Linked DNA regions of Homo sapiens: regions 2, 3, 4, 5, 6 and 7 are each linked to region 1. The links are contacts of gene promoters, found by promoter capture Hi-C in blood cells and fetal thymus (Javierre and others, 2016). All regions are on one chromosome and are shown on one strand. Each heading gives the region's core, a stretch centred on a gene start or on the middle of the fragment in contact. The rest is flanking DNA. Distances are from core to core; before and after follow the strand shown. Region 1 holds the start of MROH9 (maestro heat like repeat family member 9). Region 2 overlaps KIFAP3 (kinesin associated protein 3). Region 3 overlaps KIFAP3 (kinesin associated protein 3). Region 4 overlaps KIFAP3 (kinesin associated protein 3). Region 5 overlaps KIFAP3 (kinesin associated protein 3). Region 6 overlaps KIFAP3 (kinesin associated protein 3). Region 7 overlaps KIFAP3 (kinesin associated protein 3).

Region 1 (4,016 bases), core at 1,040-3,539:
CTGGCTAACACGGTGAAACCCCGTCTCTACTGAAAATACAAAAAAATTAGCCACTGTGGTGGCACGCACCTGTAGTCCCAGCTACTCAGGAGGCTGAGGCAGGAGAATTGTGTGAACCTGGGAGGTGGAGCTTGCAATGAGCCGAGATTGCGCCACTGCACTCCAGCCTGGATGACAGAGCAAGACTCCGTCTCAAAAAAGAAAAAGAAAATTACCAACTGAGAATTCTATATTTGACCAAACTATCCTTCAAAAAAAAAGAAAGAAAGAAAGAAAGAAAGAAAGAAAGAAAGAAAAGAGAAAGAAAGGAAGGAAGGGAAAGAAAGAAAGGAAAAATTAAGTATTCACAAATAAAGTAAGATTGTTTTTCTAGCAGATCTGCCCTACCAGAAATACTGAAGATATTGTCTCACGCTGAAATAAAAGAATACTAGCTAGTCACTCAAGTCTACACAGAGAGCACACTCATAAACTACAGAGGTAGAATAAAATTATTTGGTTTTGTTCTCCTATTATGTTTAAAAGAAAACAGCTTAAAGCAATAATTATAAAACTGGGTTGGTGGGATTATAATGTTTAAATATATGTATGTATAACATGAATATATATAATGTGCATGGCAATAATAGCAGAAAAAATGAAGGAGGAAACCAGGTATACTGGAGCAAAACCTTTGTATGTTATTGAAACTAAATTGATATTAATTCAAACTACATTGTTTTAGGCTAATGTTATAATTGTGACCCTAGAACAAACAAAGTTTGAAAATTCACACTTCTTGATTTCAAAACTTACTACAAAGACACAGAAATCACCACAGTGTGCTACCAGTATAGGAAAAACATATAGATTAATGGGATAAAATTGAGTTCAGAAATAAACCATTTTAGTCAATTCATTTTTTACAAAGATGTGGAGACAATCAGGAAAAGAATCATCTTTTTAACAAATTGTACTGAGACAAGTGAATATCCAGATGCAAAAAATAAGATAAAATTAGACCTCTACCTCACACTATATACTAAAACTAATTCAGAATGAACCAAAGACCTAAATGTAAGGCAAAAACTACAAAACTCTTAGAAAAGTTCTAAATCTAATCTCTGTGAAGTTGGGCCAGGGAATGCAGGCAATGTCTTTTTCTTTTTTTTTAGTTATGATACCAAAAACACAAGCAATAAAAGAAAAAGAATGGCAAATTTAAATTTCACTTAAATTTAAAACTTTTGTGCTTCAAGAGACACTGTCAAGAAAATGTAAAGGCAGCCCATAGAAAAGGAGGAATATTTGCAAATTATGTATCTGATAAGAGACTAGCATCTAGAACATATTAAAAAATCACAACTCAGTAATAAAAATCCAAACAGTCTAATCATAAAAAGTCACATATTGTATAAATCTATTTACATAAAATGTCCAGAAGGCAGACAGAAGATTAGTGGTTGCCAGGTACTTGGGGGAGAGGGAGGGTGAATGTCTGCTAACAGGTACAGGGTTTCTTTGGAGCTTGTTCTAAATGAAAATGTTCTAAAATTAGATAGTAATGATGGTTGTATACCTCTGTAAATATATTTAAAATGATTGAATTATATACTTTAAGATAAATTTTATGGTATGTGAATTATATTTTAATAACTCTATTATAAAAAGTGCTACAATAAACATCCTTCATGTCTCTCAGTGCATCAGTTGTATACATGTTTATACACTCTATGGACCTAGAACTGGAAATTCTGGGTTGTAGATTTTCAGTTTTGCTAGAACTTGACAAGTTTCTCTACAAACTAGTTATATCCATTTATAATCCCACCAGTCGTGTGAGAAAGTTCAACTTTCTTTTATCTTTGCCAATATTTGAAATTATCTTTTTTTAATTTTTACTTGTATTTTAGTACTTTTTAACTTATTAGCTGGGAAATAATATTTTAATGGTTTGTATTTTCATAACTTCAAGTGAGATTAAAAATCTTTTAAAATATTTATTGGCCATTCAGTTTTCCTTTTCTGTGAATTTTCTATTCTTATCCTTTGCCCAGCTTCTACTGGACTGTTGGTCTGAAGAACTATCTTTCAGTGCTTGTAACATAGAAACCAGAAACTTACCCACCCCTCAATAATGACAGGTGAGCATTAGTAGCCACTTGGGCATGCCAGGACATTCTACCACATTCATTCCAGAATGGAATCTTTGAAACATATGGTTGCCATGACGAGTGTCAACATTTCAAAGAATTTGCTTGGTTGATAACTACCTAGAGTATTTTACCTTTGGCTAAGAGGTAATATACTAGAGTTTCTCTTCACTACTTTGTCTCACCGTGATTACAGAGAAGTTACAAATATGTAAGTGAATTCCTATTAATATTTCTGTCATTCAAAAGCTTGTCTTTTTTTCTAATCCTGACTACTTTTCTTAATTTTTGTTCTGTTAAGAAAAAGAACCATGAATACATTAGAAAATTACGTTATGGCCCAGGTATGGTGGCTCACACCTGTAATCCCAGCACTTTGGGAGGCTGTGGGCGGATCATGAGGTCAGGAGGTCGAGACCACCCTAGGCAACTTGGTGAAACCCCATCTCTACTAAAAATACAAAAATTAGCTGGGTGTGGTGGCGGGTGCCTGTAATCCCAGCTACTCAGGAGGCTGAGGCAGGAGAATCACTTGAACTCGGGAGGTGGAGGTTGCAGTGAGCCGAGATCATGCTACTGCACTCCAGCCTGGCAACAGAGTGAGACAAAAAAAAAAAAAAAAAAAAAAAAAAGAAAAGAAAAAGAAAATTACATTACTATGGGCCCTCATCCAGAAATCTTGCCAAAGTTGGCAATTGGAAGAATTTGTCTTTATTCATTAATCTCCTAACTTCATGCCTTACTAGTAAGGATTATCTTATTAGTAAGGATGAGAGAAACCACAACTATATAGATAAATATATTTATTATAAGGTATTGGTTTACACAATAATAGAAGCTAGGAAGTCCTGGATTCTGCTTTCTGCAAGACAGAGACCCAGGAGATCCAATGGTGCAGTTTGAAGGCCTGAGAGCAAGAGAGTTGATGATAAAAATTCCAGCCTGGTTCTGAGGATCTGAGAACCAGAGCACCGAGGGCAGCAGATTTGTGTCCCAAGTCAAGTAGTCAGGCAAAGAGAAAACTAAGCATTCTTCTGCCTTCTTGTTTTATTCAGGCCCTCAATGGATTGGAAGATGTTGACCCACATTAGGGAGTGTCATCTCCTATCATCAGAACACCAATTTAAATGCTAATCTCTTCTGGAAATACCCTCACAGACATACCCCAAAATAATGTTTACCAGATATCTGGGCATCCTATGGCTCACTCAGTTTGACACGTAATATTAACTAACCATAATGAGTTCCCACGTTGAAAATTTGGCACCCATATACATATCCTTAAGCCATAGTTAATCTCCAAATAAAGTCAATAAGAAGCTCATAATTCCATTTAACATGTTGAAATGTAGTGGGATTGATAAGGAATCAGAGAGACCGATGGGGTTGAGAAGGATATTTATTATTTAGGTGCACCGGCCCAGTTGGATTAACCTCCAAAGGACTGAGCCCTGAACAAAGAGTTATCTTTTAATCATTTCGTGGGGTGGGGGAGATCTGTGTAGGGGGAAGCATATTACAGAAGTGAGAAACAAAGACAGTTATTCAATTAATTGAAACATGCATTACATCATTTCTTACTTTTCAAGGAAAAACATGTTTTATGACTTGAGTTTATCTGTCTAGTGACCTTGCAGCTGCACAGCTAGAGAAACAGGGTCTTCACAATGCCTGGGAAAGGAGGAGAGATAAGGCTCACTAGCCACAGAAAAACAGGCAGTTAATTTTAAAGGACTCCAGCTCTTTCTCTTTCTCTGGGGAATTGGGTTTTCTTACATACAACTGAGTTTCTGCTTACACATTCTTTAATTTCTTTTAATTCCTGTTCCAACATATGTCCTGCATACAACTGAAAATGCACTAAACCCTTCTCAGAGGAGGAGA
Region 2 (4,016 bases), core at 647-3,146, 990 kb before region 1:
ATTTCAATAATTGCCATCATCATTATTGGTCCATCTATCTCATATTGTACATAGATCTGAAACCATTTAGAGCAGCAGCCCCGAACCTTTTTGGCACCAGGTACTGGTTGTGTGGAAGAATTTTTCCATACATGGGGGAGGAGAGACGATTTTGGGATGAAACTGTTCCACCTCAGATCATCAAGCATTAGTTAGATCCTCATAAGGAGCACACAACATAGATCCCTAGCATGCAGAGTTCACAATAGGGTTTGTGCGCCTATAAGAATCTAATGCCGCTGCTCATGCAACAGGAGGTGGAGCTTAGGCAGTAAGGTTTGCTGGCCTGCTACTCACCTCCTGCTGTGTGGCCAAGTTCCCAACAGGCCATGGACAGGTACTGGCCTGGGAGTTGGGGACCCCTGATTTAGAGAATACCATTTAAAATAATACAATTAGAATAAAGATTGTGTATGTCACTGAAGTCAGCATTGTTTCTACTCCTTTCCAGCAGTTTCATTTAAAACTCTACTGGACTGTTCATGTCCCCAAAACAAATTCTTTTGAGCAGTTGCACTTGTTTAAGAATTATGTGTGTGTGTGTGTGTGTGTGTGTGTGTGTGTGTGTGTGTGTTTAAAGACAACAAAAACTGAAGAAAACAATGTTTACTTCATGAAGAAACTTTCTGTGGACTTGCAAGGTTAGAATTTTGGGCAGATTTAAAGTTGCAAAGAAACGAAGAAGCAAACTATAGAAAAGGCCCTCAGATAAAGTCTAAAATTCTGTTTTCATCTTCATCTTTTTTTCACATGCAAACTATTATGTTACAATTTAAGTAGACATAGGTCTATTTGAAAACAATTCTAAGAGTATAAGCTACATTTTGAAAGTTCAACATTCTAACATTATACCTAATACCTTCTGAAAAGGCCCTGTGAGTGCTGCACCTCTTTCCTTTAAAATGTTCAAACCACTCCTCTTACCCTCCTCTTGTATTGGGGTAACTAACAACAGGCATTTCCCCAAAAGTGGATCCTCTTTTTATCAGGAGATCTGACTTTACTGTCCCCAATTCAGAAACAGTCTTCTGAGTTCTCAATACACTTTTGGTTATTGCTTTTATGGTAGTTGTCTAAATCAATAAATATTACATATTTTTTCTTTATCTCAACATTTTGATTTTTATGAGGATGAGAATAATTTTTTCTGTGAAATTAGATGGCTAAACAGTAACTGTGACTTCAATCTTCTGGGAAAATATAAGCTGATTTCCTTTTTTGATTTATTTTATAAAATTTCATATTTCCATATATAAATTTGACCTAATATAAATATACAATAAAATATATTTATCAATGACTATCACCCAAGATGGCCCCCTGAGGGTGAATTTCTTGACAAAGAAGTTGCTAACTTCCAGTTGCCAACCACAAAAACAAAGCAGTAGAAAAGATAAGAGGTGTAAGTAAAAAATATATTTAACCTGTATTAACTGAATCAGGTAATTAATGCCTCAATTGAGAGGTTTCATTGTAACAAAAAAGAAAATAAATATGATTCTTTATGTACTTTACTATGAGGATGCACATATTAATGTATAAAATTCAGCTTGCTTAAATGTGATTTTGAAATTCTATTGATTTATTCAACATATTCATAGTATTTCCTTTATGTTTGTAAGGACCCATTTGATAAGATGGTATAGTGTGTGTTAACAACAATGTTATTTTTACTCTAAGAAGAGCTCTTATAAAGTGAAACTTCAATTTTTTGAAATCCTTGAAATTCCCTTAAATTTCCTTAAGTACTGTGGTGTCTTCTCTATAATGAAAACTGAAAAATAATGTTATGACTCATTAAATAAACTCAGTAAGTACAAACTTATGTTGAAACTAAACATACAAAATAACTAAAGAAATAACAAACCATTTTATTTTATTTGAGGAGAAAAAAGAAAAAAAGGCTTGGTCTTTAAAAAGGATTAAAATAAACTCAATTTATGGAGTCTTGGAATCTTCACGGCAGTGCAGACGGACTTCCACTTGCCCTCCCCTGGCCCACCTCCTGCACACCTTCTCCTCTTAGTTTATTCACATTTTAAATCTTTCTTCCAAGTTTGGCCTGCAACCACTTGACTGGATAAAGTAGGTCACTTGAAAAGGAAGAAAGCCCAATAAAATGAATTGCAAAGAAAACAAGATTAAACTGATTGTGCTGTTTTCATACATTGTAGCTGAAATTCTGCAAATATGCAGTTGGCTGTGGTTTGGCATTCAACAGAATGTGATCAGTAAGGAGGAAATTTTATTCTCATTAACTGCTGCAGATTTACTGCAGTGAAAAAGGGCTATGTAACCCAAGATGTGACAGTACAGAAAGATCAAAGCCATGGACTGGAAACTAAATAAACCCTCTGGCTACTTCCTGCAAGGAAAATTCACTTTGGCAATGTAGAACAGAGCCCAGTTAAAAACTACTCTCAGTTTTATGAGCTGTCATAGCAGTTCAAGTGGTTTGGACTGGCTGAGTTTATAACATTATATTTCCTTGTTTTTGTCTTAGATACTTCCGTAAGCAGTTTTAAAGACGCCCCCCCCCACCCCTTTAAAAAACACAACAACAAAAAACTAATTTCTTTTGATTGAAACCAAGAAGGTAACCACTAAACTTATTAACGCAGGTAGGTCTTCATTTGCAGATTCCTTTCTCATTTAATACAGCTTAATATTTTATTCTTAGATTTATTTGGTAATATAAATTTACTTAATAATTCATCTACAATCTGTATAATTCCTATTCAGAATAAGTGCAAATCAGTTTACAGAGCCCATATGGCTCATATCTGAGGAGTAAGCTATTTGTAATAGCACATCTGTAAAGACTATGGGCAATATGGAGATTATGGGAATTAATATTACATTTAAAATTACATTTGAAAACCTGTAGGCCCTAGGTTTTAGCTGTTTCTTAAAAAACAAATATCTTAGAAAAAATATCTAATATTTCTAATATAAGAAATCTAACAACTGTTCATAAATAGTTAAATTACATTGTTAAATCAATCAAGACAACAATAGGCTAGATTAAATCTACCTTAAATTAGAAAATATCCCTGAGTTAAGGAGTAAGCTCAATATCATTACACTCATATTTAAAGGAAATAAAAGATGACATGCTCTATTTCTCTCCCTTATTTTTTTAAGGGGGAATAGTGATGCTTATTAACCAATTATATACAATTTTGTTATTCTCATTATAATATGAAGGAGCAAGCCTTTATGACGGTAATTTGCATTATATTACCTTAAAAATCATTTTTGTTTTTTACAATAAGAGCATTTCTAGGTCAAATATGTCATAAGAACCGTCATCCTTGCTTAAAGACTTTCTTTCTTTCCATTTAAATTTACAACTAATTTCTATCTGTAAAGCCAACAAAAATGCAATACATGTGAAAAGTATATGACGTTTAACACTAGATAATCACTCTTAAATGGTGATGATATAATTAACTTGCCAGACACAACTGGATTGGCTTCTGTGTCATTTTTTCTAGTACAAAGCTGTACCATAATTGACATGTTAACATTTTTAAAGGTTCCAGTCATATTCGGGTTACGTTTTAAATTTATAGACTCAATTATGCTGAATTTCTTCTACTAAGTCAAAGTCCTAATGTCACAGGATCCTTGGGGTGTTGCTTTGCCACCCAGAAACCATTGTGGCTGGCGGCACCTTCTCCCTGAGTATTGTTTGCGCCCGCTGGGCTCGTTCTGCCCACTAGGCCCGATAGGCTGTGCTCAGCTTGAGCTACCAACCTGGATCCCACACCTGCCAAGGGTTAGCCAGGTGTGGAGCGGCGAGGTTGTGTGGGTGACCAAGCGCAGGGTCTGGTCACCACGCACAGCAGGCATGCTGGCTGACTGGCTACTATGGCAGGGTGGTTAGCTCCAGGCACTGGTACAGGTGCTGGCTCTGTGTGAGGCTGCAGATGGACCAGATGTACCGCACGCAGCTTCTGCTCTGAGCAACTGCG
Region 3 (4,016 bases), core at 548-3,047, 980 kb before region 1:
ATCTCACTACCGATCAGCATGGGAGTTTTGACTTAATCCCTTTTGGATCTGGGCCAGTTCACCCTTCCTTAGGCAATCTGGTGTCTCCAACTCCCAGGAGGTCACCATACTGATGCTCAACTTAGTGGGGACACCCGATTGGCATAGCTCACTATAATCCAGAGCTCTTAAGACTCAAGTAATCCCCTCACCTCAGCCTTCTGAGTAGCTGGGACTACAGGCACATGCCACTATGCCTGGGTAATTTCTTTTTCTTTTCTTTTTTTGGTAGAGACGAGGTCTCACTACATTGACCAGGCTAGTCTTGAACTCCTGGCCTCAAACAACCCTCCTGCCTTGGCCTCTCAAAGTGCTGGCATTAGAGCTGTGAGCCACCATGCCCGACCTCTTTTTATTTCTTAAAGTCAAATGAAAATATAATATTGGGCTTTTTGGTGAACTAGCTAAAGGTGAAATTGTGACGGTATGGGAGAAAATAGATGTCAATAGTGTAGAGTATGAGAAAAAGAAATAACTAAAATGATGAATCTTATTAATAATTTATTTGACTATACTTTACAAGACACATCACAGAAATACATAGGTAGTATGAAAACTATGTTTTTTACAATATTCCTGAGATAGAACAAACCATTTTAAGCTTCATATTCCAGTAATACATTCACATACTAAGATTCACTAAAATTAATGAAGAACAATTAAAAAATAAAAAGTCATTTAGATATATGTAGTAGCAATACGGCTTTATAAATGACAAAATATTTCCTCTATGGGTAAAAGTACTAAAGCAAACAGCTTCATTTTCATAATAGCAAAGGACATTAATTAATGACTACAATCACAATAATTTTAGACTAAGTAAAAAATACTGTAACTAAAGGAGATGCTAGTTTTGTATTTCACATAATACTAAGATTTTTTTTTAAAAAACATGGGAGAATCATATACATTTGACTATTAAATCGTCTGAAAATACAGAGAATGATGCTAATGACTAGAAAATAGCACATGCCATTTCATTTTAAAGTAAAAGATAAGACCCAGGGAATTACGAGCCTCTCAGTTTAACCTCTGTGGCTGAAAAGCTGCTAAAGCTGTTCTTATCAGAAACAGCCTAAATTTTCAGGGAGACGCAGAGGCTTAAAAACATGGCTCAAGCATTCAAACAAATCTGCAGGAGTACAAATTTATCTGACGTTTTCTGATGCTACAATCATACACAATAAAGGAAAGGAGGCTGATATTATCTAGATTTCCATGAGACACATCAAGAAATGCTACAGGGATTCATTTAGTCCATGGACTATCCATGGAAAATGATGTAGGTAAAATAATTACTAAACTAAAAAAAATTGCTTGCTATAAGAAATTTAGTTTTAGACTCACAGCATGTAATTTCTACTGTCAAATGTCTATCATATCATCAGGCTATAGATTAAAAAAACCTAAATGTTTCTAAGTTTTGGTGTATGAAAATATACATAACTGTTTTCTCACAAAAGCATAACCTATACATTGTAATTAAAAAGTATCAGAAAAATATTTAGGATTTTCACTTTAAGAGGTTAATTTAAATTAATTTTGGAAATGTGGTATAACTGTTTAGAAATCTGTTTTGAAATTTTAATTGTATTAAAACAACAATGATGAATACTGAGGTGGTTAATAGCTTTATCTGGTTTTGGAAACTGGTAATTGATTCATTATGAAAGTTAGCTATCAATCTTCAAAGCAAGAAACTTGATTCCAAGAATATTCTGATTTCTATTAAAAAAATTCACATCATATATATTTTATATCATCTTACTTCATGAATACTGAATATGTAAGGAACAGCTGTTTGCCATTACTGAACTAAGAAATTCTGTTTGGTTGAAATTAATGATCTACTCCATCTGGTTTGAAACACAAAGCAGCATTTCTTAACTACTGTAAAGTTCAGTTAGGAAGAAATCTATTTGATTTTCAGAGTAAAGCATAAGTTTTCCATGATTTAAGTATCTATACCAAATACAAAAAATAATACATAATATCTATGGAAAATTTGCACAATACACAATTAAGAAAACACATGAATGAAAGTGTGAGTGGTATTATTAATGTGAGTACAGTGATCAGATGTAATAGTAATTTACATAATCATCCAATCATTGATCAAATTGTTCAGATAAAATGAGATAATACACAAAATATTTAGAGAACATATATTGAGAACACTAAATGCATAGTAGAAACACATAGTAGAAAATAAGGTGAGTCACTAATTCAGATATAATCACCTTAATGATTTTTATCTTCAACTTGCTAGAGATTTTAATTATTATAGAAATCCTTTCCTTCCTCTCCTCAACTAAATGACTTCAATGAAGTAATATTAATGTTGGCAACAGTACAAAACAGTGAGAGCTGGAATATGCAAAAACTTACCAATCTTTGTGTCAAACTCATCCTTGGAAAAAGGTAGTAATGCAGAATCAAAAAGGTTATAATACATGTAAGATTTACATAAATATTAAATTTTACCTTAAAAACATTAGCATAGTTTAGAAAGAATAAACAATTACTCTAAAGTGCCTAAATCGTCCCCAAAGTTACCATATAGAGTTTGGTAGTTTGAAACTAAAGCAAAACCATGGCAAAATTAAACTGTTAAGATTAAATACCTTGGAAAACAAATGATGAATAAATTATGCATTTAATAAATGCAGAAGAAAAATGAATATTACATTTTTGAACGGAAGTCAGAAATCTTGAAGTTGTCCATTTAAGTTACACATTCTAGCAATTAATAAACATCTAAGAACAATTAATTTTCCTTGCTACAGCGTTTTAGGGAGATTCCATCAAAGACTAACTTGGAAAAAAAAATGGTAAGTTAATAGGTTTGCTTATTATATATAGACGTTACATCTAAAATCATTAGCAGACCATTCATAAACTAAAAGAAGTGCTTATTAAGCTTGGGAATGTGCAAGGCTGGCCGACTAAAATCTCTATTCATAGCATATAATAAACTGTTTACTTTCGCTTTGGTTATCACCTGAGTTGTAGAAAAGGTCAGGTCTTTCGAGAATATCTCCTTCATGAATGTATGGCTCAATTCGATCATCACCATACAAGTACTGCTCACTCTCATCCATCTGACGACTCTCTACCATCTCCAGCCACTGAGAGTTATGCCAGCGAAACTTTTCACTCTGAATTTTCTTAGCCCATTCTTCATCATATTCCTATTGAAAACAAACAGTCAACTGTTATTATATAAGCTAACTCACTTGGCACTCAGACGGCAATATTTTTATCTCTTGAGAATTTTGGGGGCCCTTCACTGGGTCAGAGGAAGCACTACAAATACCTGTTCAGGATTATTTTATATAATAGCCAACAAAAAGCAATTACATACATAAAGAAGTCTGTGTTTGTATTATCGATCACTAATGGCAATGGCAAACACTAGAAAAGTTTAAATTTCATAAATTCTTATTTAATATTACATAAATATTGCCAGAATTTAAGCGAGCAGTAAGACTTCAGTTTCCAAAGAGTTCTTGTGACTATAATTAAAGTTGACCTTAGAACAAAATGGATTTCAATTGCACAGGTCCACTTATACACGGATTTTTGTTCCACCTCTGCCACCCCTGAGACAGCAAAACCAAGCCCTCCTCTTCTTTCTCCTCCTCAGCCTACTCAATGTGAAGACAATGATGATGAAGATCTTTATGATGATTCACTTCCACTTGGTGAATAGTAAATATATTTTCCTTATGATTTTCTTAAAAATATTCCTTTCTCTAGCTTACATTATTGTAAGAATACAGTATATAATACATATACAAAATATGTGTTAATCAACTGTTTATGCTATTAGTAAGGCTTCCAGTTAACAGTAGGCTATTAGTTTATGTTTTGGGGGAGTTAAAAGTTATACATGGATTTTCAACTGTGTAGGGGGATTGGTCCCCTAATACCTGTGTTGTTCAAGAGTCAACTGCATTTGTGGCACTAATGACAGG
Region 4 (4,016 bases), core at 1,328-3,827, 950 kb before region 1:
ATAGTAAAAAAGTTACATAATCATAAAGGCTAATTAATAAACCTTTAATATCATACAAAGTAATTTACATAACAGCTGATGTCCACTGATTAATATGTAATGGAAAAAGCATAATTGCTTATAGAAATCTAACCTTAGGTAATGATTATGAAATTAGATTTAATAGTATAGTTTGCTATCAACTCTTGGTAAAAGTTCAATGACATTTTAGAAACAGAGTTTCAGGTCAACAGAGTATCAAACCAGTTGTGTAGAATAAATTGTGGGTCCCTTAAAGTTCAATTTGTCCCAAATGATCTCCCTCACTAACTTGCCAAAGTACTACTCTCCCAAACAAATTGGGCTAAATTTCTCACTATTAATTACTATCTTGGTATACAGTATTCCCTCACTTAATACCAATGGTTTTAATCTTGAAAATCTGTATATTTCTTAAAAAGAGTATTATAAAGCCTCTGCCTGTGATAATCTCATGTCAGAGAACACCAAAACATAGTAAAACACTCTGAGCTGGCTGTGTCAGATCACTTTATGAATATCTTAGCTCTCTTGATTATAATCACTATGGGACAGCAATTCCAGGATGCAGGTCATTTTGCTTCAACTTTCTTCAGCTCTCCACAAAATCTTCATTCTCACTCTATCAACTACGTGTCTTTACTTTTACCTCCCAACTACTTAGTCTTTCTTTTAATTATTTCTGATCTGAAAACTGACTGTGAGAAGAGTGTACCAAAGTAAATACAAATATGCTAAAATTTTGGGAAGGAATACTTCAAATATGGGGCATTATCTCTAGATGACCTATTAAAATGAATTATATTAAGGAACTTACAAATTAAATTAAAAAAACTCAAAAGAGAAAAATGCACAAAAGGCTTAAATAGGCACATCTTTTTACTGGCTATCCCTAAATAATCAATAAACATAAACAGGTGATGAACTTCATTAGTCATTAGGGAAATACAAATTAAAATCACAATGAAATACCAGTATGATGGCTACAATTGAAAGGACTGACAATGCCCAGTATTGGAGGTGATGTGGAAAAATTGCAGCTCTCTTACACTACTGGTAAGAATGAAAACCAGCAGAACTACAGATTGGCATAGTTTACTAAGGCCAAACACATACAAACTCTGTGACCCAGCCATTCTACTCCTACGTGTGAACCTAATGGAAATGAGTACATATGTTCACCAAATGAAAGGTTTCAAAATATTCATAGGAGCATTATTTATAATAGTCCTCCCCCCCACAAAAACCTAACTCTACTATCCATCAGTAGTAGAAAGGATAAATGGTGGTATGTTTATATAATAAAATATTATACATAACAATGAAAATGAACAAACTTTTGTATACAACATAGATGAATGTCACAAATATAAGGTAGAACAAAATAAACTAGATTCCACTTATATATTAAAGTTCAAAACCAAGCAACACTAATCTAGTGGTGACAAAATAAACTATCTTTTGTTCAAACTAACCACTTTGAAGGAGGTGGTAATGACTGAGAGGAGGGAGAAGAGGCACTTCTAAGGTACTGGTAATGCTTTATTTTCTTACATGAGTGATAATAACATGGGTATGCTTACACTGAAAATACATTGAGCTATACTTACAATTTATGTATGTTATTACATATTTGAAAAGTCTATTAAAATTAACACAAAATGCACATATATTATGCCTAGTACAAGATGAACTGAGATGAGAGTATCTTCTTCAGGGATCTCATATTAGCATTTTTAACTTCTATACTATTCGCTAGTTATGATGTGTAAGATCCTAGAGAACTTGGCCCTAATAAGATTCAGATAAATTTTGTATGCAATATGGAGAAGAATGAGCCCTGCCCCTTAAGAGTAATATAAATGCAAGGGGAAAACTCTAGGCCTGCAATGTCAAATATTGTAGCCATAAACCACTGCAGCTAATTAAATTAATTCAAAAATTCAGGTTATCAGTTGTGACAGCCACATTTCAAGTGTTCTACAGCTACATGTGTTGGACACCACATATATAGAACATTTTCATCAACTAAGAAATTTCAGAGGACAATAAATTCGGATCTAGAAGGGAATATGATGTTTAGAATCAGCTTCCAAATGGACCTTCCAACTTAGAAATCAAGTTTTAAAAAATAAGATTTGCACAAGAGAAGAGATCCAATTCAAACCAACACAAATCTCAACAGAAAGAAGTGATATAGCCGGGCACAGTGGCTCACGCCTGTAATCTCAGCACTTTGGGAGGCCGAGGTGGGCGGATCACCTGAGGTCGGGAGTTCAAGACCAGCCTGACCAACATGGAGAAACCCCATTTCTACTAAAAATACAAAATTAGCTGGGTGTGGTGGCGCATGCCTGTAATCCCAGCTACTCAGGAGGCTGAGGCAGGAGAATCGCTTGAACCCGGGAGGCGGAGGTTGTGGTGAGCCGAGATCATGCCATTGCACTCCAGCCTGGGCAACAAGAGCAAAACTATGTCTCAAAAAGTCAAAACAAAAACAAACAAACAAACAAAAAGAAGTGATATAATACAGTGGTCCTCCCTTATCTGTGGTTTTTCTTTCCATGGTTTTAGTTAACTGCAGTCAACCATGGTCAAAAATATTAAATGAAAAATCCTAGAAATAATTCATAAGTTTTAAATTATGCACAATTCTGAATAGTGTGATGTAATTTCCCACTGTTCCACTCCATCCCATCCAAGACATGAATCATCCCTTTGTCCAGTGTATCCAGGATGTACATGCCACCTGCCCATTAGTCCCTTAGTAGCCATCTCAGTTATCAGGTCCACTAGCATAGTATTGCAATGCTTGTATTCAAGTAACCCTTATTTCATTTAATAATGGCTCCAAAGTATAAGAGTAGTGATGCTAAGCATACTGTTATAATTTTTCTGTTTTATTATTAATTATGGTTGTTAATCTCTTACTGTGCCTAATTTATAAATTAAACTTTATCATTGGTATGTTTAGAAAAAAAAAGTATATATAGGGTTTGATAGTATCTGTAGTTTCAGGCATCTGCTGGGGGTCTTGGAATGTATTCCCCTTGATTAAGTTGTGACTACTATATTGGTTGTTCAAGGTTGGTGAGGAGAGTACTTCTGTAAAATTGGTCCTGAACTGCTTTACAGCAACATTCTTAACTTTGAAAGCTAAAGATCTTTGATATTACTCTATCCAATCCCAGTTAGCAGTATATTTAATTCATTTTTCTTGATTATATAAGTTGCTATGAAACAATTAATGTAATGAGAAAAACAGATTACAGACTCTGCATTTTATATTTAAATATTTAAATCAATAAGCTGTTTAGACATTAACATAAAAATAAATTAAGGTTATTTACCATTTAGCAATTCAATGAGTGCAGGGATTATGCCAGATTTGGCTAGCAATGCAGCACAAGAGTCATCCATGGATACAGTTCCAATCATTATAACCACTTCTAAAACAAGATCATCTTCTGCAGCACCTAGTGAAGTCAAACCATAGAAAGTTTTCACTGAAATGTCCTGATCCAAATTCATTTAGAGTATCAAAATGTAAATACACAGAAAGGATACTGAAAGCTATTAAATCAAGTCATATGAATCCTTGATATGCTATAAATTTGTCCTTTTTCCAAATTTCCATGTTTGCTGATGACAGTTTGTGATAGTGGGGGCAGGGGGCAGTAGAAAAGTGGAAATGAGCCTTTGAGAGTACAACTGAATGACAACATAGACACAGAAAATAAAAGACTCATTTGAATGCCTCAAAGACCTTTGTGCGTGTTTATGTATATGCAGAGGGATGGTATTTGGTAATTTTAAAGAGACAGAATAAAAAAATACCAAAAGACCACAAGAAAGGTAGAATAGGAAATAGAAACTAACATAAGAAAACACACTTTTAGGAAAAAGAGAACATATATGTAAGAGGTGATCCAGTGACTACCTTTCTGGGAGAAGAGAGCTGTGAGAAGAAATGGCTTTTCCTAACATAATAATAGTCA
Region 5 (4,016 bases), core at 867-3,366, 940 kb before region 1:
CCGAGATCGTACCACTCCACTCCAGCCTGGGCAGCTGAGTGAGACGTCTCAAAAAAAAAAAAAAAAGAAAAAAAAAAGGATAAAAAAAAAAAAACTCTGCTGTTCATAAAATTTAGGCTTAGGAGAATCATCTTATACCTGAGGCTCTACTCAGTGACCCATATGTAATAAGAACCCATCATCATTCTCTCACTCTCATAGAGTTATAAATCCCTTAATGGAAAAAAAAAAAAACTTTAGTAAAGAAAATGATCCCCTCTCAATACCCCCCTCCACACACATTCAGAAATCTCTTATCCTTTCAGGTTTCCTTCTTTTAACAGAACTTACTTTCACTCTTAAAGTGGGGAACAGTCATGGAGATGATGGGCTATCAAGCAGACGAAAGAACAGACAGAAGTCTGAGGACACTGAAGAGAAACCTCACAATTAGCTACCCTGTTTCATTTACCTTTAAACAGCATGTCCCAGGCAAATAAAACCTATATGACAGAGGTGTTTTCCCCATGTTTTAGCTGAACACAACTGAACAAAAGAAATCGGACTACAACTAGTGCTTCACCAGATATATATATATATATATACACACACACACACACACACACACACACACACACACACCACACACACTTTTTTTTTTTCTTGAGGAAACAGTGTGAAAGGAGGTGATGACAGAGCTAAGGGACTATAATATTCTAACCCAAGTTGCTAATGTGTCTTCTGGATTTTATGTGAGTAAAGTTTCCCCTAGAATTTAAACAACTGATTTACAAATAACTATAAATTTAATTCCCCCCCTTTTTGTAATTAGGGAATGAAAAAGATATAAACTGGCATTTGGCCTTTTATTCAGAAAAATACGTAAATATTTTATAAACGGTCTTGTTACCCACATATTATCTTGATGATTCTAGTTCTATCCTACAGTTACAAATCACATATTTTCTTTCTCTTCTAAATAATTTCAATATATGAAGACTACAGTATATAAACCATATGTATCTTATTCACTGAATCATAAATGATTACATAAATAATCAATACTTAATAAAAATGCAGCCTATAACTTCACGGCATCTAGCAGATATCTGGAACCTACAACAAAAAGACAAGGCATTTTAGAACAAAATTGAGTACGTGGAGGGGGAAGATGTCTGGCAATAACCTGAATTCATCTATTCAAACACAGGTCTGCAAAGAAAGTAAAGACTCTTTGGCAGCCAACATTTAATATTACGACTTAAAGGCTAATTTGCAGATCACATAGCAATAAACAGCTATTAGAGAGATTAAATGGTCTAAGTAAAATAAAGAGCTTATCTTTTATTGTAAACTAATAGTCTTCTTCATTCACTGAAAGAAAGAACATCTGAGTTCTTACAAAATAAAGCTCAAGAAAAAAAATCTTATATACCCTAAGTGAATTCCTACAAGAAATGAGGATTGGAGGGTATGATTTTCTCGTAAGAATTCATGACTAGAAGCCATAAACTGTAGCTAACCGGCTATGATTCCTCTACATCCTACAAATGGTAGACATTTCAAAAAGGCTCCTTTAAGACATAAAGACATCAATTATTCCCTAACGGCATCCCAAGTAAAAACAGGCTGCCAACAGTCAGCATGCTGGCACAGCACCAAAGACTGTGAATTTTAAGCAAGGGCAGTGAAAAGACTGAGTATCTTGAGAACTAGGTTCTTAATGACTGGAGGTGGATTAGTTAAATCTGTTCAAGTAATAAGGGCAGGGTAGAAAAAAAATGGCCTAGTCATTATGATTCCTTTGGTATTTATGGTAATAAACATGAATCATGATGAACTCACTGGCTATTAAACGCAGAGGTCATAAGTACTTCGATAGGATTTCCACAGGAATTCACCGTTAATTAGCTGGATCATTATTTGAAAGTGTTACTGAATTATCTTAGCATTTGTGCAGCCATTCCCCTCAAATTGGTCATTCCCAGCTGAGGGCAGTTAATGCCTTAACAAACTGGTCATTAACTCCAGTAACTGATTTTGTGGGAATTATTGCACTTATAAAGTACATTCAAGAGTTTATAAGAAACATTGCATCTTTTTTTCTTTTTAAAGAAATTTACAGCTGTAGTTCAGCTGGAGCAGCTGAAGGAGAAAAAACTATCAGCTCTCTGGGCTGCTCTCACAATCGATTTTCTGCCAATTAAAGGGCAAAACACATGCTGATGGGTTTTGAATTTTAAAATGTCTTCAGTTTTTTCATCTGTGAAGTGATCAGTAAAAACACCATTCAATTACTAATTTTGTAAGACACTTGGGATTTTTCATTCACAGTTCAGTCAAGCAGAAATACGAGTTCTGAACATGAGAACTCAAAAGCCAAATTTCCGCTTCTGCAGTAGATCCAGCCCAACACTGTGAAAACAAAGTGAGAACACAAGTTATGGGCCACATTATTAGCCAGATTCTCATTCCCTTCTATACTCTATGTCTTCTTCTTTCAAAGTGGAACACTCCCTTTGATGTCACAGAGGCTCCATGAAAAGATAATAGAAGTGGGAATATAAGCACACCTATATTAGGATAGAATAGCATTAAGGTGATATATTACCCCTGGAAAGTCTATATGAATACAACGTGCTTCAAAATTTGCAGGTGTCTTTACATTTATTACGGAGTGAGAGCCCCTAAAGTTCTATCAATACAGTGAAAATGCCACAGGTGAAAACCACCACTTAAAAGATAATTGCAACAATTATTGAACATGTTAACTACACACTGACATAGACTAAAAACACATTGAAGCTATATCAGAACATCTTTGATACATGTTTCCATATAATTTTATGCTTAACTTATTAGAGCATATACTGCAGATATATACTCAATATAAACAGATAGCCTTAGTTTAAACTTGAATTTGCACAGACCAATGTTTAAGACTGTAACTACATTGGATGATCTCTTTTATAATATATTTGTCTATAGTCGAGATTTGAGATGAACAGATAAAAACCAACAGTTGTTAACCAACAGTTAAGGGGAAAAAATAACATAATTTATAGGTTACAAAGATCAGTATGAAAACATTAAGTACAACAATAGTTTCTGAGGTACAGTGGTTCACGGATAAGTAATTTTTTATGTCCAATTATTTAATTTTAAAAGTATGAGAAACTAACATTGCAGATCTACCAGTAAGCTAAACATTGTTTTTAGAGATAGTCACTAAATGAGTACTCTTATATAGAACATTTTTGATAGATTTTCATTTGTTTTAGTATGTACAACTGTACATTTTGCCACACAGCTTATTTTTCATCATATCTTCAATTATTTTATTATGTCTTCTGTAGAATTTTTATTACATCCATAGAATACAAGTTATTTGCAATAAGATCTAAAGAATACACATACTTGTGGTACAAATGATAAGGATCAAAATAAAGCCCTTAACAATGACTGCTTTCTAGCCTGTATGTCCAAATCATTGACTTAATATGCTTTGGCCAAATTTTACCATCTAGAAATGGAGACACCCTAGGCAATATTCACACACACACAGTATTGGAACCAGCTGGTGACAGAAGAATCTTAAGAAAAAAGGCTTCTTGATTTAATTGGGAAAACAGGAGGAAGCATAAATTTTACTGCCATTAATAACTTCAAGCAATCTTGATATGAGTCTACCTCACCCTGACGGCGAGACATGTGCTTTCTGTTAAACTGTTTGCCACTTCTGACCCCTATTGTTTGCTCACTTGATCAGGTAAGAAAATGTAGGTTTATTTATAGGATAAATGAGGCCTATTAAAATTGAGAAACAGTGTAGTAGTCTATGAGGAGTTGTGTTCTGAAACAGATGTGTGAAATTCCATAACAGTTCGGTAATAAACAGAACAACCAAACCAATTTATTTTTTAAAAAATCTACTTTAAGTTTCTTAAAGAAACTATCATAAAGGCAACCTAGTTTCAAAAAAATGGAAAACACTTCATTTTGCTTGGAAATCATTATTCTGACCATTTCCAAACAGT
Region 6 (4,016 bases), core at 1,006-3,505, 900 kb before region 1:
ATGATCATCAACAGGTGAATATAAGGAAATACTATTCAATAACAAAAAGGAATAAACTATTGATAAATGCAATAATATGGATGAATCTTTAATTATGCTGAGTAAAAGACAAAAATGCATACATACTATATGATTTCATTTATATAAAACTCTAGAAAATGCAAACTAAGCTAAAGTGACAGAAAGCAGATCAGTGATGACTTGGGAATGAGGAAGAAGGCAGAAGGAAGAAGGAAAGGGAGAGATTGTAAAGATGCATGAGGAAATTTTGGGAGTGATGGATATGTACCTTATCTTGATTATGGTCATTATTTCATGGGTATTTACATATGTTAAAATTTATCAAATTATATACTTTAAAACTATACAGTTTATTGTCTATCAGTTATACCTCAATAAAGCTGTTAAGAGAGTATACAATATTTGCATAAATATTTGGTTAGAAACAGAGCTTAAAGTTTTGCATGTTAAAAAAGTCAAATTAGTTCTTTGAAACTTTTACATGAAAACAATTGCTTTCTTGAGATCTGATGCATTTTGGATTATATGCTAACACAGATAATACCTATTATTTTCTAGCATATTTTAAAATGAACCTTTGAAAATCTGACATTTTCTCCAACAGGTTGAACTAAATTACTTGGCTTCAAATATTTAAAAAACTCAGTGTAGTTAAAATTGCTACTAATCTTCACAGGATGAAAATATTTTGGGAGTTAACAAGTATTTCCATGTACAAAGTTAGTCAAACACCAATAAACTACATGAATCATCAAATAGTCAAGTATAAATCCGGACTTAAATTCACACTTAAAAGCCCCATGTCATTATCACTAACCACCATAAGATTTTACATCTTATCAGTAACCAAGAAACCATACTATTGAAGTTTTAAATATCTTAATAAAGCTAGAGACAAGGAATTCTTTTCTATTAAACAAGAGAAATATTTTAAAATGTTTATATCAATTTCCTAGGAAAGCAACAAAATAATTCACTTTATAAAACAAGTAAGTTAGGGCTGAAGAGACAAAGATTGATATTATTGAAAAGGTCACACACTGGATTAAAAAATCCTTTCTTAGGAAATAAATAATAAGTATACAAACATTTAGGAACTAAATGGGGAAAAATAGTAGAGTGAAATTTAAAACATTACCCATGCTAAAGACAGACGAACTTGTAGCATATTAACATTTATAGAACTTTCAGCTATTCTCACATTAGCTTTACAGGTATGATAAAAAGTGAACAAAACAAATGTATTTGGAGTAAGTACTTTGTTGCTTTCCTCATTGCTTAGGAATTCATACCTCGTAATAGCTGTTCCTGTTTTACCACAAGCCCCTGGTACTTTTTAAAGGTTTTTTCATAATCCTTTCTCAAGGTTTGGTTTTCAGGGTCTTCATCAAGTAAACAACTTGTTAAGGATCATCCATACTCATTGAAGCAAAAAAAATCTACTGATAAATTCTATGAACAATGGCACTATTAAATTTTATGTGCAACTTTATCCAGTTATTTTTCTCACCAAAAGTTTAACTAAAATGTTATCTGCATAATAACTGTGCTGTAACAGCACTTCTTATTTAAGTGCTCATGGATTCCCTGGGAGTCTTTGGGTGAACAAACTTTTTTATGTAGCCCACAGCTAACATCATATAGATATTTGAACCTCACCAAATACTTGAATTCCCAGAAACTATATGTGAATATTTTATATAGGTGCACAAGTCTATAACTTTCAACAGATTATCAAGTGGGTCCACGAACCAAAAAAATTACTGCCTCAGAAAGTGATTTAGTTACTAAGAACACTGGATTTTACTTCAGACAGATGCCCAGAATATTCAAAGGATATAGATTAAATCTAAAGCTTTTGTAGCAGCCTTTTCAGACTAGAGATGCCAAGAAAGAACTAACCCAAACTTAAAGGTAAACAAATTTTAAAAATCACATCTTCTGGTCCCAAATCGTCCTCTGGACTTCTTGCAAAAATAATCAGTTACTTCAGTATCCCCAAGCATATGAGTCAAGCATATGACCCCAGAATATGAGTCAATGCAGCTGACCTTGTTGAATACCACTTGTATCAAAATACAAAGAAATTTAGGACATAATAAAATAGCAACATGTCAGGAGAAATGACCAGAATTCTGATGTCATTTTTATATCCCTTCAATTACCATAATCTGTTGAGTCTAAGATACATTTTCCTCACATCTTAACATCTCCAAAACTGGATGTGTCTTATAATCCCTGATGTGTCATAGTTTAATTGAAAGCATATGTTCCTCTCCTCGCACTTAAACAATAGTGAATCTTAAAATTAATGGTGTCTGATACAGAAATACAATATGTCCTAAGATATCAGTTCTTGTCACCAAACAATAACAAAATGCAAATTCATGATTGCTAAAGAGTTCCACTAGTGGTTCCCTCCATACTTCTCCAGTTTAAATAAATTTTGGGTACCACTGAAGCATTCAGGAGTCTTGTGACTCCAGAACTGATGTAAAGTCTCTAGGATTCTTGGGTTGTTGATGTAGTTGAGTCACTATCAATCTAGATGCCAGAAGTTTATGGTATGCATAGAAAATTTATAAACCTGAAAAGATTCTAATTAAGAAAAGTCAAAGCTTGTGTGTGGGTGTGGATTTTATAGTGTCTTGGAGTTCCATGTGACAACAGTAAAAGCCTGAGAGATTTTGTACACAATAACCTGAATTAACCTGTTACAACATAGATTAAATTGAAGCCTCAGGGTTTCCAGAGGCCAAAATTAATATAAAAGTAAGGTCCACTTTTGCACAAAGCAGAGTTAAAAATGTATGATATTCTGCAAAATAGGAATAAAGTTTTCACTTTTTAAAAGACATAATAAACACTTGATTCAAAGGAAAGTTACCAGCATGCCTAGTTGATCTGCAAAACATATCATGGTTGAACAGATATGAATAAACCAGGGGCCTTTGATCTAGAAGCATTGAGTTTAGAGGCTAAAATATGATAAATATCTTCAAATATGAGAAGAATTATGATGTTGAAGAGAATAGCCTTATTCCATATTGCTTTAGTATACAATACTAGAACCAATGGATAGAAGTTATTGGGGAATGGACTTCAGTGCACTAAGCAAAAGACTATTATAATAAACAGAATGCTAAACCACAGAATGGGTGAAATAAATAAACACTGACATTGTTAAAGAGGAGCCTATGTAATAGCATTTGCCAGGGAAGTTGCAGAAATATTTTTATATTTGTAAGATAGGTTAAAACAGATACCTAAGTTTCCTTTCACAGGTTCTATTATTCTATAGGCCTTTCAAATTTTTATTTATTAACAACAGTATTTTTGCACTTTCCTAGAAAAATAGAACCTTTAACTAGGTTCATCACCAAATTTACACCCATTCTAATCAAAGTCACCTTAGTACTCACACAGAAGTATATAAGCAGCAGTGGTGGGCCAGGCTTCAACTAACCAAAGGATCTTAGTGGATGTAATGATGTAACCACTTAGAGGCTCACCTACTAAGTTACCCGACACAACTATTACCTGCTCCTTCTACCTCATTAACTAATAAAGGTTGTGAAGAGACAAAAAGTGAATATCAAACTGTATTCATTTTGATAGTTTCAATCTACTTCTTAACCTTCAATAACACACTCCTGCATTGTTTCCAAGTAATGTAATTAACAATTTTTAAAAAAGAAAAAAGAACAAAACCATCCCACCCATCCAAAACTTAAAGCAAAAGACAACAGACGGTTCAAATGCCACTCTAAAAGGATATCAGCTTTCTTCTTCTTTGAGAGTTCTTCTTGCCAAAGCTCATGTCTTTTTAACTCATGATCAATAATATTCATACACAGAGCTCCAATTTTATAGTGAGTAATAAGTCCATGAAATTGAGAAAAGCTTTAAAGAAGACATTTTAATATATATTTAAAAGAATACATTTTATGGGTACAGGAAATTTGTTTTTGGTGATCACTGGTACGAACCATGTA
Region 7 (4,016 bases), core at 443-2,942, 870 kb before region 1:
CATAAGGATCCAAACAAAAACACTAGATCTGAAAAGTACAATAACTGAAATAAAAAAATCACTACAGGGTTTTTAACAGCAGATCTGAGCAGAGAGAGAAAAGAATCAGCAAACTTGAAGATATGTCAAATGAAACTGTCCATTTTGAGGCACAGAAAGAAAACAGAATGAAGAAAAATAAACAGAACCTAAGAGACTTATGGAACACCATCTAGTATACCAACATATGCATAATGAGGGTATGAAAGGAGAGGAAGAAAGAAACATAGAGAATACTGGGAGAAAAAACAGTCAAAAACTTCCCAAATTAGACCAAAGACAAACTTACACATCCAAGAAGCTCAATGAAATTCAAAGATAAACTCAAACAGATCCACAATAAGACACTCTATACTGACGCTCTATTTAAAAAAATAAATAAAAGATTTTGAATTAATAACCTAATTTTACACCTTAAGGGGCTAGAAAAAGAAGAGCAAACAAAACCCCAAGCTAGCAGAAGGAAATAATAAAAAGCAGCAACAGAGACTAGAAAAAGAATAGAGAAAATGAAACCAAAGGTTAGTTCTTTGAAAAGATCAACAAACATTTTTGGAAAACTTTTAGTTAGACTGACTAAAAAAGAAAAGAAGAGACTCAAATTACTAAAATCAGAAATGAAAGTGGGACATTACTGCTGCTCTTTTGATGATTAAAAAATTACAAGAGAATAATATGAACACCAACAAATTGGATAACCTACATGAAAAAGAATAATTCCTAGAAACACACAAACTACCAAAACTGACTCAAAAGACACAGAAAATCTGAACAGAATTAGAAGTAAGGTGATTGAATCAGTAATCATAAACCTTTCAACAAGTCCAGTACCAGATGGCTTCACTGGTGAATTCTACCAAGCATTTAAAGACAAATTAACATAAATACCCCTCAAACTCTTCCAAAAGATATAACAGTAGAGGAAACACTTCCTAATTCATTCCATGAGGCCACCATTACCCTGATACCAAAGCAAGACAAAGACACTACAGGAAAACCTTTAGACCAATACCCTTTATGAATGTCGATGTGAAAATCCTCAAAATACTAGCAAACAGAATACAGGAGTATATTAAAAGGACCACGCAACATGGCCACATGGGCATTTCAATACAATACACCACATTAATGGAATGAAGAAAAAAAGTACATGATTATCTCAATCGATGCAGAAAAAAGCATCTGACAAAACCCAACATCTTTTCATGATAAAAGTACTTGATAAATTAGGAATAGAAGAAAAGTCCCTTAACATAATAAAGGGCATATATGAAAAATCTACAGCCAATATCATACTCAATGGTGAAAGAATGAAAGCTTTCCCCCTAAGATCAGGAACAAGACAAGAATGTTTATCCACTTTCCTGACTTCTATTCAACATAGTACTGGAAATTCTAGCCAGAGCAATGAGGCATGGGAAAAAAAAATAAAAAGGCATCCAGATTGAAAAAGAAGAAGTAAAATTATTTCTATCTGCAGAAGACATAATCTTATATATAGAAAATTCTAAAAATGGCACAAAAAACTGGCTAGAGCTAATAAATTCAGCAAAGTTGGAGAATAGATCAGAACACACCAAAAAAATCCACTGTTTTTCTACATATTGGAGCTGAAAAATATGAAAAGGAAATTTAGAAAACTTCATTTCCAATAGCATCAAAAAGAATAAAATACTCAGGAGTAAACGTAACCAAGGAACAACTGTATACTGAAAACAAAAAGTTGCTGAAAGAAATTAATATGAACTAAATGAAAAGAAATCACATGTTCATGGACTGAAGGACTTAATATTGTTAAGATGGCAATATTCCCCAAAGTGATCTATAGATTCATTATATTCCCAAAGTTTCAATAGCTTTTTTTGCAGAAATGAAAAAGCCAACCCTAAAATTCAAATGGAAATATAAGGAACCCTAAATAGCTGAAACAACCTTGAAAAAGAACAACAAAGTTGGAGGACTCACACTTCTGGATTTCAAAACTCACTACAAAGCTTCAGTAATCAAAACAGTGAGGTACTAGCACACGGACAGATAGATCAATGAAATATAATTGAGAGTGCAGGAATAAACCCCAACATTTTTGGTCATTTAATTTTCAAAAAAATTGCCCAAACCATTCATGGAGGAAAAGAACAGTCAATTGTTCTTTTCTGACATTTGTTCTGACAAATGATGTCAGAACAACTAGATAGTCACATATAAAAGAATGAAGATGGACCCTTGCCATATACCATAGACAATAACTAACTCGAGATGGATCAAGGATATTAAATGTAAAAGCTAAAACTGTAAAACTCTTAGAAGAAAACAGAGGGACAAACCTTCATGACCTTGGATTTAGCAGTGGTTTCTTAAATAACGATGCCAAAAGCATGAGCAACAAAAGAATAAATTAGACTTCACCAAAATTAAAAATGTTTGCATATGAAAGTTTTACATACCAAGATAGTGCAAAGAAAACCCACAGAATGGGACAAAGTATCTGTAAATCATGTATCTGACAAGGTTCTATTACAAAGAACTCCTTTTCCCAAAGAATAAAGACAAATGGCCAAGAAGCACATGAAAAGCTCAATGTCATTAGTAATTAGGGAAAGGCAAATCAATACCAAAATAAGATACCATTTGATATCCACTAGTATAGTAATAATTACAGAACAGAAAATAACAGGTGTTAGTGAGGATACGGAAAACTGAATTCTTATACATTGCTGGTGGGAATGTAAAATGGTGCAGTCACTAGGGAAAACACTTTAGTGGTTCCTCAATGAATTAAACATAGAATTACCATATGGTCTGGCAATTCCAGGCCTAGGTATACACCAAAAGATACAAAACAAGTGTTCAAACAAAAACTTGTACAGTAATGTTCACAGCAGCTTTATTCCCAATAGCCAATAGGTAGAAACAACCCAAATGTCCACCACCAGATGAGCAATAAACAAACAAAATGTGGTATATCCATAAAATGGAATACTGAATTAGTCAATTTTATGTTGCTATAACACAATACCTGAGACTAGGTAATTTATAAGGAAAAGGGGTTTATTTAGCTTACAGTTCCGCAGGCTGGGAAGTTCAAGGGCATGACTCTGGCTTCCAGTGAGGGCTTTTGTGCTTCATTATAACACAGTGGACAAGATCAAAGGGGAAGTGAGAAAAGAGAATACCCAAGGGTCTTCCTGGCTTTATAACAACCAACTCTAGAGGGAACTAATCCATTCCCAAGAGAGCTAATCCAGTCTCACTAGAGCAAGAATTCACTCACTCCAGCAAGAACAGCACCAAGCCATTCATGAGGGATCCACCCCCAAAACTGAAACACCTCCCAGGCTCCAGCTCCCAACACTGCCACAATGGGGGACCAAGTTTTAACATGAGCTTTGGTGGAAACGAACTATATCCAAACCACAGCAAATATTATGCAGCTATATAAAGGAATGAAGTACTGATACATGCTACCACACAGATGGACCTTGATATACCATGTGAGAAATGCTTGACACAAAAGCCACACACTTTTTTCATATAGCACTCATAAATACAATAAATATCAGTATATTTTAAAGTCTGTATTACTTGCTAGAGTGTAAATGCCATGAAGGCAGGGAATATATTTATGTTTCATTTACCAAATATGTTTTATCACTTGGCTTAATGACTTTTACACAGTAGAATCTCAACTATTAAATGAATGAACAAATGTTGTTCACTTTTAATATCCTTCAATAGTTCACCAATGCACTCAAAATAAAGTCTCAACTCTTTACTAAAGCGCTTAAGTCCCATATGATTTGGCTCATATTTCTTTCTAGTCTTATTCTGACTTTACTTAATAATCTATGTTTCAGGCACCTTGCTGAGTGCTGGGAATACAATGGGAAGTAAGATAGACACATAGCACCTACCTTTATGAACTTTATAAACCAGAAGGAAATATAAAGTAGTAAGTTTAGGGAAAAACAAGGTATTAA

Evidence for each region. The method cuts DNA at HindIII sites, captures the fragments that hold promoters and counts their contacts. A CHiCAGO score of 5 or more calls a contact.
Region 2: a contact is called between a fragment that was not itself captured here and the fragment with the promoter of MROH9 in region 1, in 12 of 17 cell types (naive CD8 T cells, naive CD4 T cells, non-activated CD4 T cells and 9 more). The highest score is 16.6, in naive CD8 T cells.
Region 3: a fragment that was not itself captured here is called in contact with the fragment with the promoter of MROH9 in region 1 in 10 of 17 cell types (M2 macrophages, M1 macrophages, non-activated CD4 T cells and 7 more); the score reaches 11.8 in M2 macrophages.
Region 4: a contact is called between a fragment that was not itself captured here and the fragment with the promoter of MROH9 in region 1, in 1 of 17 cell types (total CD4 T cells). The highest score is 5.1, in total CD4 T cells.
Region 5: a contact is called between a fragment that was not itself captured here and the fragment with the promoter of MROH9 in region 1, in 6 of 17 cell types (M0 macrophages, M1 macrophages, naive B cells and 3 more). The highest score is 7.3, in M0 macrophages.
Region 6: a fragment that was not itself captured here is called in contact with the fragment with the promoter of MROH9 in region 1 in 4 of 17 cell types (M1 macrophages, M0 macrophages, M2 macrophages and 1 more); the score reaches 6.3 in M1 macrophages.
Region 7: a fragment that was not itself captured here is called in contact with the fragment with the promoter of MROH9 in region 1 in 3 of 17 cell types (M1 macrophages, M2 macrophages and M0 macrophages); the score reaches 6.8 in M1 macrophages.

Annotation. Positions count from the first base shown.
Region 1 is chr1:170,933,245-170,937,260 of GRCh38, forward strand. It overlaps MROH9 (maestro heat like repeat family member 9), which reads left to right and starts at 2,290. Exons shown (of 22, transcript NM_001163629.2): 1 at 2,290-2,343. The HindIII fragment of the contact is 7,245 bases long and covers 1-2,379 here.
Region 2 is chr1:169,940,342-169,944,357 of GRCh38, forward strand. All of the region lies in intron 19 of KIFAP3 (kinesin associated protein 3), which reads right to left. Among named protein-coding and RNA genes, the nearest start is that of SCYL3, 48 kb to the left of the region's middle. RefSeq lists an enhancer at 914-3,597. The HindIII fragment of the contact is 5,755 bases long and covers 1-4,016 here.
Region 3 is chr1:169,958,006-169,962,021 of GRCh38, forward strand. KIFAP3 (kinesin associated protein 3) reads right to left here. Exons shown (of 20, transcript NM_014970.4): 18 at 3,041-3,230. It also overlaps the pseudogene RN7SL269P. Among named protein-coding and RNA genes, the nearest start is that of SCYL3, 66 kb to the left of the region's middle. The HindIII fragment of the contact is 2,319 bases long and covers 639-2,957 here.
Region 4 is chr1:169,978,604-169,982,619 of GRCh38, forward strand. KIFAP3 (kinesin associated protein 3) reads right to left here. Exons shown (of 20, transcript NM_014970.4): 15 at 3,369-3,494. Among named protein-coding and RNA genes, the nearest start is that of SCYL3, 87 kb to the left of the region's middle. The HindIII fragment of the contact is 8,043 bases long and covers 1-4,016 here.
Region 5 is chr1:169,997,817-170,001,832 of GRCh38, forward strand. The region is part of intron 10 of KIFAP3 (kinesin associated protein 3); the gene reads right to left. Among named protein-coding and RNA genes, the nearest start is that of KIFAP3, 75 kb to the right of the region's middle. The HindIII fragment of the contact is 5,762 bases long and covers 1-4,016 here.
Region 6 is chr1:170,030,573-170,034,588 of GRCh38, forward strand. KIFAP3 (kinesin associated protein 3) reads right to left here. Exons shown (of 20, transcript NM_014970.4): 7 at 3,800-3,924; 8 at 1,314-1,412. Among named protein-coding and RNA genes, the nearest start is that of KIFAP3, 42 kb to the right of the region's middle. The HindIII fragment of the contact is 763 bases long and covers 1,875-2,637 here.
Region 7 is chr1:170,068,377-170,072,392 of GRCh38, forward strand. All of the region lies in intron 1 of KIFAP3 (kinesin associated protein 3), which reads right to left. Among named protein-coding and RNA genes, the nearest start is that of KIFAP3, 4.3 kb to the right of the region's middle. The HindIII fragment of the contact is 677 bases long and covers 1,355-2,031 here.